Linked DNA regions of Homo sapiens: regions 2 and 3 are each linked to region 1. Evidence: promoter capture Hi-C in human tissues and cell types (Jung and others, 2019). All regions are on one chromosome and are shown on one strand. The core of a region is centred on a gene start or on the middle of the fragment in contact, and the rest is flanking DNA. Distances in the headings are between cores, read along the strand shown.

Region 1 (3,594 bases), core at 523-3,022:
TCAACCCATGAACTCATGGAATATGAGGAAGCTGAGGATCCTGGAGGGAAGGCAGGGGAAATCGGGGGGTCCTGCCAGTACTCGCTCAGCCACTCTGTTAGGGAAGAGTTTGAATATACTGATAACCAGGTGGCCAGAGTCACATGACTGGGTGTCTGTCCTGACTCAAGCATCCCACACGTGGGAATCCCAGGATGAGCTGCCTCATAGGCCATGGGAAGCCCGGGCTACTGTCTGGGAGGTCCCTGGTGTGCTGCTCTATGCAGTTCCCCATCTAGTGCCCCAGCCCCTTGATTAGGGATGGGTGTTTGTGGACTGACTATTGGAGGCTGAGGCCCAGGGTCCCTGCATGCTCACCTGCCCGCAGCCGAGGCAGCAGGTGAGACAGGGCCTGCAGTTGCTTGTGCTGGGCAACCCGCTCCCGTAGGGGCTCTAGAGTCTGTAAGGCCTGGGACATGCCCTGGAGCAACCCACGGGCCTGGCTCAGGGCCTCCCGGGTTCCCTGCACCACCTCAATGGCCTGGGCCAGCTGCCACACACCAGTCTGCACGCCTTCCAGGTATGACTGCATCACTGACTGTGGAAAGATGGAGCCATGAGGCTGGGCCAGCCCTGCAGCACAGTCCCAGCACCCGCACCCCCTGCCCCATGCCCACCTTGAGGCGCGATTCCAGGGAGCAGGTACGCTGCACCTCGCGGCTGCGGTACTGGCCTAGCCTGGCCAGCTGCTCCGGCCGGTAGAAGATGCCTGAGGCCCACTTGAGCGCTGCACCCCGGGCCAGCTGCTCTGCCCGCTCCTGCTCTGGCCACTCAGGTCCTGGGAAGGAAGAGCCTGGGCAGCCGTGTAGTCAGGGAGGAGGGCCCAACGACCCCAGTCCCAGCTTTCTTATTTATTTATTTATTTATTTATTTGTTTGTTTATTTGTTTATTGAGATGGAGTCTCGCTCTGTTGCCCAGGCTGGAGTGCAGTGGTGCAATCTCGGGTCCCTGTAACCTCCGCCTCCCGGGTTCAAGCGATTCTCCTGCCTCAGTCTCCCGAGGAGCTGGGATTACAGGCGCGTGCCATCACGCCCAGCTAGTTTTTGTATTTTTAGTAGAGACGGGGTTTCACTATGTTGGCCAGGTTGGTTTGGAGCTCCTGACCTCAGGTCATCTGCCCATCTTGACCTCCCAAAGTGTTGGGATTACAGGCGTGAGCCACTGCGCCCAGCCAGTCCCATCTTTGTTGCCATCATTCCTCCCCTAGTCCACCCAAAAGGTTCATACCAGGGGACAACGCCGGCTGCATCTCATCCTTGGCTGCTGAGTCCATTGTGGGCCTGGAGGAGCCAGAGCTGAGGTGGGCCCGGGGCAAGCAGGCAGAGTAGATGCCCCTGTGAGCTGCTGCCTCTGTCTAAGCCCTTCTGAGAGGAGGAAGGAGGTTCTTCCCGGCCCCCTCGGGAAGTGAGAGGGAGCGGGTGTGATGCGGAGGGCACCTGGGAGGCTTTGCCTGCTAGGTTTCCCAGTCGTGCCCCTGCAGATGTCAAGCGAGACAGAGTGGGCACAGGCCTCCACTGGACCCTGGTCCTGCTCTGAGCTGCACAGGACAGTTTGGTACAGAACTTACCAGATTTGATCAGGCGTCCAGTTCTCCCTCCAAAAATGACCTTGGCCTTGAGAACAGCCCTCTCCCCAATGCAGCTGGGCACGCCTGCCACTTGCTCACAGGGCCTGGGCAACTCCAGCTGACTCCAGCGTGCAGCTGAATTCCTCTCCCCAAGGAAGTCTCTCTCCCACTCCCCACCCAGAAGCCCCTTCTTCCCACCGAGGCTCCTCCCTCCCCAAGGCCATCAACAGAAAGGAAGGAAGCTGAGTCTCTGGCATTTTATTCCCAACAGGAAAGAGTGTCTGCACAGAGGGTGGGGACAGCTGGGCGACACTTCCCTGAGGGGCGGGGGGGTGGGGTGTACTTGTACTCAACCAGTCTTGACCAGCCTACCCAGAACCTCTTAGTGCTCAGGAGAGGAGATAGGGATTTGCTAGACTTGGCCTCAACCTGGGGTGGTGGGCAGAGTGTGCAGATATGGATGCAGACGACATCAACAGCACAGGATGAAAACTGTGTTGGCCAGCCTCTGAGGAGGATGTGTACCTCTGCGGAGGAGTGAGAGGTGGCAGGCTCTTGTGAAGAGGGGTGTGGTGGGGGGTGGTAGGAGAGGGTCATGAAAGCTGTGTTTATCTTTTTTGTTTTAGACAGGGTCTTGATCTGTCACCAAGGCTGGAGTACAGTGGCACCACCATAGCTCACTGCAGCCTTCTGGGCTCAAGCGATCTGCCTGCCTCAGCCTCCCAAAGTGTTGGGAGATTACAGGCGTGAGTCACCGCAACTGGGCAGCTGTGTTTATCTTGAGAGTTATAGGGAGCCAGGGAAGGGACTATAAGGTGGTAATTATTTAGTGGATGTTCAGTCCACCACCCAAATCCACCCTTCAGGACAGAAGTGCTCATTCTCCAGCTGCCAGGAGTGTAGGCTACTGAGATCACACCACTGAGTCTCTCAGTCAATATTGGGGTGCAAAAGCATGGTACCATCGTGTGAACATGAACCCTTCAGAAGTGCTACCCCAATTTCAGAGATCCTAGTGGGATAGGCTGAGGCCTATAATATAATTGCATCTGCTCAATTCTGCTTGTCTTAATCCCTTAAAGGTGTGGATCCTGACCAGGTGCGGTGGCTCACACCGGTCATCCCAGCATTCTGGGAGGCTGAGGTGGGAGGATCTCTTGAGCCCACGAGTTCAAGACTAGCCTGGGCAATATAGTGAGACCCACATCTCTAAAAAACTAAAAATAAATGAGCCGGGCATGGTGGTGCATGCCTGTGGTCCCAGCTACTTGGGAGGCTGAGGTGGGAGAATCGCTTGGGCCCAGGAAGCTGAGACGGCATTGATCTTGCCACTGCACTCCGGCCTGGGCAACAGAGTGAGACCCTGTCTCAAAAAAAAAAAGTGTGGATCCCCAACAAACTTGCTGCAAAACCCTATCTCGAGTCCCATTTCCCAGAGGACCTGATCTAAAAGAAACAATAATAAATAGTAACAATGTTAAAAGTTACAAAATGACCGTATCACACATTCCTGCATGCCAGGAATGACTGAGTGCTTTACTGATATTTACACATAGGTAAACACGTTTGCATTGGCTGAAGTGTTCATAACCCCATAGTCTCTGAGCACTGTACTGTGAGGACAAGACGAGCGAAAGATGAGGCTAGGACCATGGGTGGAACAAGGTGGACAAGGTAGATATAGTTAGTGCTTGCTGTTTGGCAGGAAGTGAGGGATAGGAATAGATGGGGTGACCCCAAGACAGTAGGGCAGCCTTTAGGAACAGGTTTGATGTGGCAGTAAAATGAGTTTGAAATATATAAAAGAATAAATAAAGAGAAAAAAATGGAAAAGGAACAGGTTTGAGGGAGCAGATTGGATTAGTCAGGTAGTGTGGTCTCCTCTCCCAAGATGGGGACTAGGCAGAGTTAGTGATGTTGGGGCAGATTGGCAAGGAAAGTTCCGATGGCGTCCCCTTCTCTACTGCCAGGGCGGCCCACTGACGCC
Region 2 (3,594 bases), core at 666-3,165, 400 kb after region 1:
GTGGGCTTTCTTCAAGTAGCTGTTAGAATAATTGTTTTGTTTTGACCATACCCTTTAATATTAACAAATGGGAGGGGAGATTGTTAACAAAATACTAGAATGCTCTTAACTTTTTTTTTAACTTAGAAGAAACATTTTCATTTCCCTTTTAATTATTTCTACACACACACATACAAAAAGCCCTGTTATTTTATAATTTTTTATTTTTATTTTTTTAGTAGAGACAGGGTTTCACTGTGTTAGCCAGGATGGTCTCGATCTCCTGACCTTGTGATCTGCCCACCTCGGCCTCCCAAAGTGCTGGGATTACAGGCGTGAGCCACCGTGCCCGGCCCTAACTGTTCTTTTAAAAATTGGCCGAGCACGGTGATCGGCCAGGTGTGATGGCTCACACCTGTAATCCTAGCACTTTGGGAGGCTGAGGAGGGTGGATCAGCTGAGGTCAGAAGCTCAAGCCCAGCGTGGCCAACATGGCGAAACCCTGTCTCTACTAAAAATACAAATATTAGCCGGACATGATGTTTGGTGCCTGTAATCAATCCCAGCTACTTGGGAGGCTGAGGCGGGAGAATCGCTTGAACCCGGGAGGTGGAGGTTGCAGTAAGCTGAGATGGCACCATTGCACTCCAGCCTGGATGACAGAGTGAGACTCTGTCTCAAAAAAAAAAAAAAAAAAAAAAATGCTGGACTGGGTGGCTCACACAAATGCTGTGATTACAGGCGTGAGCCACCGTAATCCCAGCACTTTGGGAGGCCGAGGCGGGCAGATCACTTGAGGTCAGGAGTTTGAGACTAGCCTAGCCAACATGATGAAACCCCATCTCTACGAAAAATACAAAAATTAGCTAGTCGTGGTGATGCGTGCCTGTAATCCCAGCTACTCAGGAGGCTGAGGCTGAGAATTGCTTGAACACAGGAGGCAGAGATTGCAGTGAGCCAAGATCTCACCACTGCACTCCAGCCTGGGTGACAGAGCGAGACTCTGTCTCAAAAAATAAATGAAAATTAATGTCAGAGAAGTGAGAGGTACAGTTGTGATTAAATAGATGAGTGCTTTTTCAGATAAAGGCTGCTTCCGTTCCCAGTCACTGTGAAAGAAATGGTCACTATTATTTTTCTGCTTCTCAGCCCAAGTTATTCTCCCAATTCAACTCCTCCTCATTCTTTATTGTAGTCTACAACTTTCCTGGTACTAGTTCACTGATACTTTGCTTTGATGTATTTTAAGCTCTCAGATAAGATGATGGCGTATATGTTTTCAGGAATAGCAGAGTAAAATGGTTATTTTGTTTAACTTTTAAACCTAGCTTTTACTCTAAAAGAGTTAATAACTTTTATTCGTTTTGGCTAGTGTCCTGCATCTAGTAAAAGTTACTTAGCTTTTCCTTTCATCCTCAGGAAAAACTGATTACTTTTTTTGGGGGGGGGCAGTAAGGGCACAGAGTCTTGCGCTGTCACTCAGACTGGAATGCAGTGGTGTGATGATAGCTTACTGCAGCCTGGGCTCAGGCGATCCTCCCGCCTCAGTCCCGAGTAGCTGGGACTACAGATGGATGCCATCATACCTAGCTAATTTTTTTTTTAATTTTTAATGGAGACAAGGTCTCACTATGTTGCTCAGGCTGGTCTTGAACTCCTGGGCTCAAACGATTCTCTTGGCTCTGCCTCCCCAAGTACTGGGATTATATGTGTGAGCCACTGTGCCCGACCTGATGACTTATAATTGCTTTTTTTCCCCTCCTTGTCCTAATGTCATTTAACATTCTGTATAGTGAGAATACCAGACTAAGCTTTTCAGTCAACATTTTTCTAATGTAAAGATCTATCGACTGGACGCAGTGGCTCACACCTGTAAACCCAGCACTTTGGGAGGATGAGGCGGGCACATCACCTGAGGTCAGGAGTTTGAGACCAGCCTGGCCAACATAGTGAAACCCTGTCTCTACTAAAAATACAAAAATTTGCTGGGCATAGTGGTGTACGCCTGTGATCCCAGCTGCTCAGGAGGCTGAGGCAGGAGAATTGCTTGAACCCTGGAGGCAGAGGTTGCAGTGGCCGGGATTGTGCCACTGCGCTCCAGCCTGGGTGGCAGAGCAAGAATCTGTCTAAAAAAATAAATAAGGCCAGGCACAGTGGCTCATGCCTGTAATCCCAGTAATTTAGGAGGCTGAGGTGGGAGGATCACCAGAGCTCAGAAGTTTGAGACCATCCTGACCAGTATGGTGAAACCCTGTCTCTACTAAAAATATAAAAATTAGCCGGCATGGTGGCATGCGCCTGTAGTCCCAGCCACTCGGGAGGCTGAGACATTAGAATTATTTGAGCCCAGGAGGCGGAAGTCGCAGTGAGCCAAGATCGTGCCACTGCACTGCAGCCTGGGTGACAGAGTGAGACTCCGTCTCAAAAACAACAACATCAAAAAAAGATACTTACAGAGGCCAGGCGTTGGTGACTGGCTCAACGTCAGTAATCTCAGCACTTTGGGAGGCCGAGGTGGGTGGATCACTTGAGCTCAGGAGTTTGAGACCAGCCTGGCCAACATGGTGAAACCCCGTCTCTACTAAAAATACAAAAATTAGCGGGGCACAGTGGCATGTGCCTGTAGTCCCAGCTACTTAGGAGGCTGAGGCAGGAGAATCGGTTGAACCTGGAGGCAGGGGTTGCAGTGAGCCGAGATCGCGCCACTGCATTCCAGCCTGGGTGACAGAGTGAAACTCCATCTGGAAAAAAAAAATTTATATATATATGTATAAATGTTTAATATATATTTTATATTTATATATTTGTATATCTTTTTTATATTTTAATATATGGTTTTTAATATATATTTTATACATATAAAGAGAAAGGTGCAAGGTATCTTCTGTTCTCTTAAAATTTTTTACAATTTCAACTTTTATTTTAGATTCGGGGGTACATGTCCAAGTTTTTTTGTGTACATGGGTATATTGTGTGATTATGAGGTTTGGGGGTACAATTGTTGCTCATCACCCAGGTAATGAGCATAGTACCCAATGATTAGTTTTGCAGCCCTTACCCCGTTTTCTCCCTCCCCCTCCTAATCCCTAAGGCCTATTGTTATGTTTATGTCCATGTGTACCCAGTGTGTAGCTTCCACTTGTAAGTGAGAACATGAGATACTTGGTTTTCTGTTCCTGCCTTAATTCGCTTAGGATAATGACCTCCAGCTGCATCTGTGTTGCTGTAAAGGACATTATTTCATTCTTTTTTATGGCTGTGCGTTCTCTGCCTTCTTATGATGTCTGAGGGTTCGTATCAACCTCTGTTAGGCCATTTGTTAGGTACCCTTCATGTTGACTTTCAGAATTTCTGTGGCTTGTGAAAGTTCATGGGGTCTTAGAGCTGCTAATGTATTTCTTACCAAGAGAATGCAGATAGACTTCTGATCTCCCCAGGAAATAAGTTGGGGTTTTTAGCAATCAGTTGCCCCTTATAATGGATAGTAAGCAGTATATTAAAAAGTTGTGGGTTTAGTTATAAAATAGACTGCTGGAAATCATTCTCTTCTACTGTCTTATTCTCAGTACACATGGATTATTCCTAGTATAATAACCAGTCTACTTAACTGACTAA
Region 3 (3,594 bases), core at 485-2,984, 260 kb after region 1:
TCTCCAGGGAAGGCCAGCAAGGAGCCAGTGGGGGTTCTCTGGAATGAAGGCCCAGGTCAGGCAGACCTGCACAGCCTATGCCAGAGATAGAGAACTGTCCTCTTCTTTTAGGGCCTGAGGCCAGGGCTGGGCATTCACCCAGGACGGCCTGGATAAGACCCAGAGACCTGAACAGGAGGCTGGGTCAGGTCGATCCCAGGCCGAGGCTCCCATCACTCTGCCCTGCAGAAGGCCAGCTCTGTGGGGTACATGGGCAGCAGAGGGGGCTGTGGAGCTGGGGAGGGGTGAGACTGCCCAGTTCAGACTTGGCAAGGGACAAGGCTCTGCCTCCAACCAGCTACAAAGGGGCTGGGGCAGAGAGTTCTGTGTAGTCACCTGTGTGGGGATGCAGTGAAGGCAGTAAGCCCCATTCCACAGTTAGGCTGCAGTAGCCACAACTATCCTCCAGTCTGTCACCAAAGATGAACTCAGGGTATGAGGGAGCTAAATGAGGCCTAGGGGAAATTCCTCCAAGGTCAAGGTGAGGCACCTATGGGATAAAAGTTGGGGTGGAGGCTGCTGTTCTGAGCTGGGCACTGAACACGGGTCTTGTCCTAGCTTCTGAGTGGGCCAGAGCTAGGCCCCTGCCCTGTGACAGGACCTTGTGCAACTAGTGCTCAGGCTGTCCAGAGAAGACCTTGGTAGGAGGTGTCTTCCCCCATACTGAAGAAAGAAAGGAGGGGAGGTGGCAGCCCAGGGCCCAGGCCACGGCTCAAAGCACTGGCCACTGGGGGAGCTCCCACAGGGCCCTCTAGAAAGGCGGCAGGAGGAAAAGGCCCCAGCTCCTGTCCTGGCCTGACCCCCACTCCCCCTGCTTGCTCTGCACTCCCCCAGCTCCCACCCAGCCTGGCGCCCTGCGAAGACCTTTGCTCTCCTGGGCCTGGAGCCAGGCAACTGCCCTCTCTCCACCCCCAATCTGGCTGGGTCAGCTACAGGATGTGCACTGAGAAGAGACAGTCCCCTAACTCCCAACCATAACTGAGAGCCTTAAGCAGGGCCCACTTGCAGCTGCAAGCCAAGAGGCCCAAATGGGCAGCCTCCTGCCCCCAACCCCACAGTGCTGGCAGAGTGAGGGACCTCAGAGCTCGCCAGAGCTTTGGGCCATGGTCTGCAGCTCCAGCCTGCATATTTTCTACCCCGGACAGCACACACGCCTCCTGCCTATGAGGCCTCCAACATCTCACATACCCCAGAACCCATGCTGCATATGCGCCACCCCGCAATACTCTAACTGCACCCCATCCAGCCCCAATGTAGCCTTGGTGCTCCCTGAGACAGTCACAAATCCCCTGCCCCCAAGCAGAAGGATGCTTTCTTATGCTCTCCCTCCCTTTCGGACGGGAAGAGGGAGAAAAAGCACACCCAAGGCCCACCTTATCCAAGTGATCCCACAACCACTAGCATTACCAGCCCCACTGTCAGAGCAGATAAGGCCCAGAGAGGGCCAGCACCAGGCCCTAACACACCACAAAGCAGAGGAGCTCCACGTCCCCATGGCCAATGTCCACACACCTCCACCCATGACCAGGGCCCCCTGCCTGGCTCTACATACCCCACCTAGTCTCATTTTCTCAGAGGGATCCCCACCAGCCAATCTCCTCTTTTTCAACGTCCCCCTCCTTGCGCCCCCCACTCAGGGCATCTGTTTATGTGGGGGAAATGCTGAGCCTAGTAAGGGCCACTCACAATCGCACTACCCCAGCCCCTTCAAGGCCCTCTTCAAACCCAAGCCAGGCCAATCGTGGGCGATCCTGTGCCAGGCCCAGCACTTCCCTTGCCGGGCTGGCTATAAGCTTGTTGCTGCTGCAGCCCTGCTTTTCTCTCCTGCCCAGTGAGGGGCAGAATCCTCTTTTTCAGGAGATGAGAGGCTGGACAGGCCTGGCAGAGATAAGGCTGGCCCAGCAGTCTGCCTTTCTCCCAAGGCCGAGGCCTTCGGCAGGCAGGGAAATCCTCCTCTTCCTCCTTGCCTGGCTTCAGCAGCTGCCTCCCTGCCCCCAGAAAGCCACTCCACCATTCCTCCCCTCATTTGGCCTCAATAGGAGGGAATAAGGTTCCAGCTGGTCAGCATCTCCCTCCAGGGGAAGACAGCTGGGGAGTGGAGGGCCGGCTGCCCGCCAGGCCAAAGAGGCCCTTGTGGGGTGGGGGTGGGGCCGTCTGTATTCCTCTGCCCAGAGGCCCTCCCTTGCCCTGTGCCTTCAAAACTCAGCTTGGGCCCACAGACATCTTGGGTTGGAGTTTAGGAAGCCACTTCCTCCAAGAAGCCTTCAGAGTCCCTAGCCAACTCTGCCCCTCTGCTGCGCCCTTTGGTGCCACCTGCTGGAACAATATGGCTTCTCAACCCCGGGTGGCTGGTCTGGTGCTGGTGAGGCAGCCATGATGCCTGGGTAACCCTGCCAGCCTGTCCACTGCAGTCCCCAGCAGGTGCTCCAGTGAGCTGCTAATGACAGTATCTGTATTCAATCACTTCTGGGTCCTGAAGAGCCCTGTGCAGAGTGGAAAGTGAACAGAAATATCACTGTTTCTGAGCTCTGTCCATGGCCTCAGCACACCACCTCTCGAGACTTAGTTTCTCCTCCATATCAAGATGAGTGAGGGCCAGGCATGGTGGCTCACACCAGTAATCCCAGCACTTTGGGAGGCAGAGGTGGGAGGCTCTCTTAGCTCAGGAGTTTGAGGCCAGCCTGGGCAACATAGCAAGACCTCATTTCTATTAAAAAATCAAAAAAATTAGCCAGGTGTGGTGGCATGCACTTGTAATACCAGACACTTGGGAGGCTGAGGCAGGAGGATCACTTGAGCCCAGGAGATCAAGGCTGCAGGTGAGCTATGATCATGCCACTGCACTCCAGCCTGGGCAACAGAGCAAGATCCTATCTCAAAAAATAAAATAAATAGAAGATGAGGGTGGGTGCTGTGGCTCATGCCTGTTATCCCAGCACTTTGGGAGGCCGAGGAGGGCGGATCACTTGAGGCCAGGAGTTTGAGACCACCCTGGCCAACATGGTGAAATCCTGTCTCTATTAAAAATACAAAAATTAGTCGGGTGTGGTGGCGCACACCTGTAATCCCAGCTGCTCTGGAGGCTGAGGCAGGAGACTCACTTGAACCTGGGATGCGGAGCTTGCAGTGAGCCGAGAACGTGCCACTACATTCTGGCCTGTGCGACAGAGTGAGACTCCAGCTCAAAAAAAAAAAAAAAAAAAGCATATGAGTGAGGTGTGGCTCCAACAGAGATAGTGAGCTTTAACCTGCTCATAAAAGTCCTGCCTCTCCCCAAGGCCCAGTTGGGTCCTTCCACCTGGTCTGAGCCTTCTGGGCCTCACGGAGCTCCTGCATGCTTGACCCCAGGAGAAGAGTGAAAGTGCTGGCACTCCTTCAAGGCAGGAGCCAGGTCTAGCCCAGGACCCTGAAACCACAGCAGGCCTACAGCCCCCAACTGCAGAGTCCTGCCATGGACCCAGAAACAGTGACTGTAGATAGCAAAGACAGGAACTGGCCAGGGGAGTGGGGGCCAGAGGAACCTGATGTCCCTCTGTGACCAAGCAGGGCCCCAAG

The links. The method cuts DNA at HindIII sites, captures the fragments that hold promoters and counts their contacts. A contact is called where the count stands out against the background at its distance.
Region 2: a fragment that was not itself captured here is called in contact with the fragment with the promoter of EXOC3L1 in region 1 in 2 of the 25 tissues and cell types used here (dorsolateral prefrontal cortex and spleen).
Region 3: a fragment that was not itself captured here is called in contact with the fragment with the promoter of EXOC3L1 in region 1 in 2 of the 25 tissues and cell types used here (bladder and dorsolateral prefrontal cortex).

Annotation. Positions count from the first base shown.
Region 1 is chr16:67,188,364-67,191,957 of GRCh38, forward strand. EXOC3L1 (exocyst complex component 3 like 1) reads right to left here and starts at 1,773. Exons shown (of 14, transcript NM_178516.4): 1 at 1,608-1,773; 2 at 1,268-1,320; 3 at 657-817; 4 at 358-577. The coding sequence starts at 1,313. RefSeq lists an enhancer at 3,515-3,594. The HindIII fragment of the contact is 11,498 bases long and covers 726-3,594 here.
Region 2 is chr16:67,590,303-67,593,896 of GRCh38, forward strand. The region is part of intron 2 of CTCF (CCCTC-binding factor); the gene reads left to right. Among named protein-coding and RNA genes, the nearest start is that of CTCF, 30 kb to the left of the region's middle. The HindIII fragment of the contact is 6,285 bases long and covers 1-3,594 here.
Region 3 is chr16:67,445,437-67,449,030 of GRCh38, forward strand. The region is part of intron 2 of ATP6V0D1 (ATPase H+ transporting V0 subunit d1); the gene reads right to left. Among named protein-coding and RNA genes, the nearest start is that of HSD11B2, 16 kb to the left of the region's middle. RefSeq lists an enhancer at 1,820-2,319. The HindIII fragment of the contact is 4,026 bases long and covers 1-3,594 here.